2 separate regions of the Homo sapiens genome follow, and region 1 is linked to region 2. The links are contacts of gene promoters, found by promoter capture Hi-C in blood cells and fetal thymus (Javierre and others, 2016). All regions are on one chromosome and are shown on one strand. The core of a region is centred on a gene start or on the middle of the fragment in contact, and the rest is flanking DNA. Distances in the headings are between cores, read along the strand shown.

Region 1 (3,347 bases), core at 189-2,688, 120 kb before region 2:
ATGTAAAGTCCAACAGAAATGTAGGAAGATAATTTAACTTTTCTGGAGTACACTAAGAATAACTTCACAGAAGCAATGTTTGAATTGAAACTTAATGAATGAGTAGTATTTAAAGGCAGGAAAGTTTGAGAATATCCTAGACAAAAGAATCAAGGCATAGTAGAGCTTATAAAGTAACTTATTTCTGGAGAAAGACTAGGAAGGGACTATGAGACTGAGCAAGAAGGCAATGACCTCACCAAGCAAACCCTTGCATGGCTTCCTAAGGAGGAGCCTGTGTATCATTGTGGGGACAATGTGAGAGACATTGAATAATTCTGAATAGAGTATGACATAGTTAGATGTATATTTTCGACAGTGTGATGAGTGAAGAAAGACTATAACCAGAGTCTGAGTGACCAATGAGGAGACTATTGTAATAGTCTATATTACAACTCAGACTATGACAATGGAGAGGGAGAAATAACAGAGATTATCTCCTCGTTCAAACATTACTCAAGCTTCTCTCAACTCTTTTTCAACTAGGCCTTAACTCTTGGACTCTGTGGTTGCCTCTGCATTGTCTAACTTTAGCAAGAATCCTAAAAGGCCAGTTTATTCATCCTTAACATGTATCTCACCACCCTTGATTTCTGATCAAATTCTTTATCCTTCACCCTCCCCAAGGTGGTGTCTGAACATCCTAGCCTGTCTTCAGGAAGGATCCTGTGTGGTTGGTTTAGCCAGAACTTCCTCTTTACCCTTATGTTTTCTTTCAGTAATTTTCTATGTACTGGCCTCCATCTTAATCTTTGGCTATAAATTCCCACTTTTTCTTGTTATATTTAGAGTTGAGCCAAATCTCTCCCCCCATTGCAAAGGCCCATTCCAATGAGCCCTACACCTATCAAAACAGTCTCCCTCTGAATAAAATCGGCTTTACCATTTTTAAAAAGTGTCCATTGAATATTTTTTTCCCTAACGAAGAAGAGAGAAAATATTTTCAGGAAGTATTCAGGTGTAAGGATGCAGGGGACCGCCATAGACTTATCTATATTCATTCAGCTTGGGCAAAGTGAGAATGAATTGTTCTTGACAGAATTATTTTCACTACTTTAATAAATAATTACTTGTCATGTTCATAAAGTAGAAATAGTTAGTAGTCTTCTGTACATCAAAAGTATGTTTGGGCTAAGAACCTAGAGAAGAATTCTATTGAGCATTTCAGAATCAACATGGAGAAACGCAGGCTAGTCTTCATTAAAGTCTGTGCAGAGAAATGATTCTGAAAAGTACTGTTAAGACTGGTCTACAATATAAGAGAATTGCCCATGAGTTATGACCAATTTATTTCCTCTATAAGGAAAGTGGATATAAACAACACATTCCTCACATGTGGATAGGGTGAATTGCTGCCTACATCACATGGTTTAGAGAGCAAATTAAAAACCCTTTCCTGGCTGGGCGCGGTGGCTCACACCTGCAATCCCAGCACATTGGGAGGTCGAGGCAGGTGGATCACGAGGTCAGGAGATCGAGACCATTCTGGCTAACACAGTGAAAGCCCAAGTCTGTACTAAAAATACAAAAAATTAGCCGGGCATGGTGGTGGACGCCTGTAGTCCCAGCTACTCGGGAGGCTGAGGCAGGAGAATGGCGTGAACCTGGGAGACGGAGGTTGCAGTGAGCAGAGATCGCATCACTGCACTCCAGCCTGGGCGACAGAGAGAGACTCCATCTCAAAAGCAAACAGACAAACAAACAAAAAACCCTTTCCTGCCCCTGTTCTTTCTGGTGTCTAAAAATTCTCACCATTGTAGTAGAACCTTGCATTTGTGGTAAGAAGTTGCCTGTGTCGGGAGAAGACACTGAAGATATTGCTGGGCTCTTTAGTGAAAATGAAGAGTTGGGAAAGATGAGGTCAAGTCTCATCGAGAATACAGAAACCTACATGAGTATGAGGAGGCCCTTTGCTGAATATCCAGTATGAGTGTGGTTTAATTAGCAGACAGTCGGTCACATTATGGCTTACTGAGATCTAATCCCAAGATTCTCAAATGCTAATGTCCTCACAAATATCTGATGATCTTATTAAAATACAGGTTTTGATTTGGTAGGTTTGAGATGGGACCCAACACTCCATATTTCTAACAAGTACTAGGTGGATATTACACTGCAAACACTGGTCTAAAACAGAACACCAGGAAGTGTGGAATAAGAGGACCAGAAGTTAAGAAATGGATCACCCCCACAGGGTTCTGAAGGAATGAGACACAAGGGCGGTAATTTGGGGGATTGTCAGGTACAGAAAATTTTATGTCTTCTTATGTAAAGGATGCCTCTGAATGTCATTCATCTGTATGCCAAAGAGAAACTGGTTCCTTTGACCAAAGCTTTATTTCTGTGAACATTGCCAACAAGGTATGTAAAGCATACTTGCCATGCATTCTCAGAAACCTTCTCTTTTCTGAGAGTAGAGGTTTAAAGGCATAGATAACTTGCTATGTTTGTAAGCAAAAATGCCCTCCCGATGACTTTAAAAAGGTCTGTAGCCAGATCCACAAAGCCACAAACTATAAGAAATTTAAAATGAAGAGAAACTATTTACAAATGTAAGATTCAAAGAATTCTCATCTCAAAAATACTTCATTCTACTCCAATTACTGGCATGTTTTCAGTTGAAATGTGCTTTTATTTTTTTTTTGAACAATCTAAATAATTGTTCACATTTTCCACTTCATGTAGACACATCTTGATTATAATTAGAAGAAAAAATGCATCTGGTTGAATAGAATCCAAGGTGTAAAGCTGAAGTGAAGACATTAGGGATAGGTGACAGAACACTTAAGGTACAATTAAAAGATTGCCTCTGGCTATATTTATCATTGTCCCTTCTTGCATAAAAAATAGTGGTTTATTTTTAATGAAAGACTAAAATTTTACAAAACATTGGCACTTTGGACAACAACAATGCAAACAAATGGAAATTTTACCTGGCCTGAATTCAGCCTTAAAAAAAAATACAAAAAAAAACAAAAAACAAAAAAACTCTTATTCATTGTTTAAGGACAACAATTACTTTAGTTAGGTCAGTTTATTTAGTTATTTTATATTTTAAGTAGATTTAGAATATATGACCATGTACTTTTATCTGGCTTTGAAAATTAAGTCTGTGGCTCCGTTCCTGCTAAACAGCAGCTCCCTGAACTTGTTCCACAGGCAGACAGGCAGAGTATAAAAAGAGGATTAAAACTGCTTTCTGTATCCTCAACTTTATCAAGGATAGCACAGAAATCTCCATCATTCATATTGCCTAGAGAGTTCTAAAGCATTAACAATTTATCTAGCTTATGTATAATAAAAGCTGT
Region 2 (3,240 bases), core at 158-2,657:
AGAACTAAGGAAGCATACGTTAATGAAGCCCATTTTGATAAAGTCTTAAGATAATCATTAAACATTGAGGATTTTTTTTTATTGCCAAGTTATTTTAAAACAGACATCCCCATCTGTTCCTGAATTTTACCCCGTATTTATGCACCGCCCCGTTTCTCCTTGCCTTCAAGACCGGGCTCCGAGACACAGTGAGAGAGAGCAATGGAGGAAGCTCAGCAGTGTCCACTGTCGCCATTCCTTGGCCATAGAAAACAATGTATTTGAATTTTGATGTAAGCATAACAAATTGGTATGTCCATGGCATGCAACTTTGATTTTCATTTATTTATTTATAATAGCATGCCTTAAGTAATCGAACTCTTTTAAAAATACCCATTAAACGTTTGGATTTAAAGGGATTCCATGACATAGAGCAATTGACTCTGGGTGATATATATTTCTATTTTCTGTAACTGTTTTCTACATTACTAGAAATTTCATCAGAGTCTTTGCCACATTGTGTAAATATAGATCTCACAAATGAACTTTATGGTATTACAGATATGGCTTTTTTAAATTTTTGTCGTTCTTGTTTTTTGAAAACCATTTCACTGTGAGACACACTGCATCCATACATCTCTTGGTAGATTGATATTAAAATAGACAATTTCAGAATGTCAGTAGGATTTCAGTCCAAACCACTGAGATTTTATTCTTTTAAGTAGGGCAAATAATTTTATTTATTTCCTTATAATTCTTTATTATACACATGACCTTAAAAATTAAAAAAATATTTAAGAATAGAAACATAAGAGGTGGGTTTTTTAATTGTATTTTTTTCTCAAATATCTTTCAGCATATTATTTGTATGTGGCCTCCATTCTTTCCAGTGAGATAGAATTTAATCAATTGTTATGGTTTCAAAAATGTCAGAAAAATGCGACTTTTACAAAACAAAAAATTTTATATAGCAAAATAACTTGCTTTTTAAATAAATGCTGCTGTAAATAATTTTATAAAATTGAATGACTTCTTGGTTTATCCATTGCAGTGTATTTATTTCTCTTATATAAATGGAAGAATAATTCCTATATGTGAAGAATTATAATCATAGTTTTTAACCTATTTCTTTGTCATTCAGAAGATGAAGATGACACGTTGATTTCTTGTTTGAAATTAACCAAGTCCCGAGAAAAGAAAGTGAATAGTGTTAGCACGAGGAGGAAGGAAGAAATGGAGATTAGATTGGATACTCTTTCTGCATCACTGGGTAGATCCAGCACTTTAAATAACTGCAACTTGGAAGATAAATTAGCTTGGTATGAAGGTGAAGCTTACATGTGGCATCACTGGAAGCCTTTTCCTGAAAACCCTCTCTGGACATGTCTTGATTTCCAAATAGCACAAGTTGGACCCTGGGACCACTGCTCCTCTTGTATTCGCCACACACGTCTCAAGTCTTCCTGCTCAGATATGGATCTCCTACATTCATGGGTAAGTTTGCAGACTACGGAAATGTGTCATCTTATCTGGGGTTTTGTACTGTCGGGAAAGAAACAGATAGCAAAAGTGCTAATCAGTGAAATTTATCAGTTTCAGAAAAGTTACCAGAGCAAGAGTTGTCTTTCCAAAAAGCAACCAAACTCTTGTGACTTTTACCCATATTAACATTTCATATATTCCTTTGTGTACAAATTAATGACTGCATAAAATTTTTCCAGGGATTTCTTTTTGATTGAAGGAAGACTTCGTGTGTTGACTGAGATCAAGAAAATGTGAAGTGAACTGTCTAAATTATTGCAATTATAATGAAATTTCACTGAAAAATAATAGCTAATTTTAATGAGCATTTTATTTGGGCCTGCCATTTTCCTAAGCATTTTATATGTATTATCTCATTTAAATCTCACATCAACTCTATAAGGTAAGGACTTACATTATGAAATATTACCTTAAGAAATATTATTTTTGGCCAGGCACGGTGGCTCATGCCTGTAATCCCAGCACTTTTGGGAGGCCGAGGCGGGAGGATCATGAGGTCAGGAGATCGAGACCATCCTGGCTAACAAGGTGAAACCCCGTCTCTACTAAAAATACAAAAAAATTAGCCGGGCGTGGTGGCGGGCACCTGTAGTTCCAGCTACTCGGGAGGCTGAGGCGGAAGAATGGCGTGAACCCAGGAGGTGGAGCTTGCAGTGAGCCGAGATCGCGCCACTGCCCTCCAGCCTGGGCGACTGAGCAAGACTCGTCCTCAAAAAAAAAAAAAAAAAAAAAAAAAAAAAAAAGAAATATTATTTCCCCTCATTTTACAGTTGAGAAAATGGAGGCACAAAAAGTTGGTAACAGGTGCAAAGTCAGACAGCTAACAGGAGGTAGAGCCAAGACCTATAACCTAGGTCTTGCTTTTAGCTAGAGCTCCTGCTTTTAGCTACTACATTAGAGTGTTTTCCATATACGAGGGCAGACTCTAAGGCTATTATGTGATACGTGAGAAAGAGTATGCTCTCTGGAGTCAAACAAATTTGGATGGATTCTGGCTGTGCTACTTTTTTTTTGGGCTTGGATAAGTTATTTAAACCTTTTAATCTTAACTTTCTTAACTAAAAAATGGAAATAGTCAAGAAGCTAAAGTCAAATATTATAAATCTTCTAGTACTTAAGAGTGGTACTTTTTTTTCAATTTCCTTGTAAATTGCTCAAGGCATGTTTTATAACTTTACCTACAGCTCCTCTGGTCATGTGTGTTTTCAGTGAATGAATGGGACAATTCTGTGTATCCAGGGAGCCTACTCTCTACCATTTTCCTCAAAGAATCAGTCTCTTCTTAGACAGAAGCTACATTTTATAACATATTTAGAGGTCTCTTAAAAGGCATATTTTCTCTTGGAACTTTTTTTGCCTTTTAAGATTTGTGCATTAAGTCTGCAAAGACTAGAATTAAAGTAACTTGTGTTCAAAGTGCCATAGTAAATATAACAGGTATCTGATAACAGACTTCGAACTGATGAAACTGACCAACATTAATCATTTCTAAATATCCTCCTTCTTCTTTAATCTTCATCTTCTTTTCTGGGACTGCTGCACTTTGCAGGTTTTCTCTTAGAGTAGCTTCTTGGAGAGTAGCTGGTAATATAATTAGGACGTGCTTCTGATGACTCCCTCTGATATCTTCAGAAGCAGGATCAAGGCTGATGACTCCTTGGCAAGTGGCTAAGCTGTTGTATAGGCATCTGAACACAAATAGTCAGAGTTTTCTTCAAG

What was found. The method cuts DNA at HindIII sites, captures the fragments that hold promoters and counts their contacts. A CHiCAGO score of 5 or more calls a contact.
Region 1: a fragment that was not itself captured here is called in contact with the fragment with the promoter of SAMSN1-AS1 in region 2 in 7 of 17 cell types (activated CD4 T cells, total CD4 T cells, neutrophils and 4 more); the score reaches 9.4 in activated CD4 T cells.

The regions. Positions count from the first base shown.
Region 1 is chr21:14,702,204-14,705,550 of GRCh38, reverse strand. No RefSeq gene overlaps it. Among named protein-coding and RNA genes, the nearest start is that of SAMSN1-AS1, 120 kb to the right of the region's middle. The HindIII fragment of the contact is 1,872 bases long and covers 503-2,374 here.
Region 2 is chr21:14,580,369-14,583,608 of GRCh38, reverse strand. It overlaps SAMSN1-AS1 (SAMSN1 antisense RNA 1), which reads right to left and starts at 1,407. Exons shown (of 5, transcript NR_046512.2): 1 at 1,318-1,407. It also overlaps a transcript of SAMSN1 not described here. The HindIII fragment of the contact is 2,204 bases long and covers 1,315-3,240 here.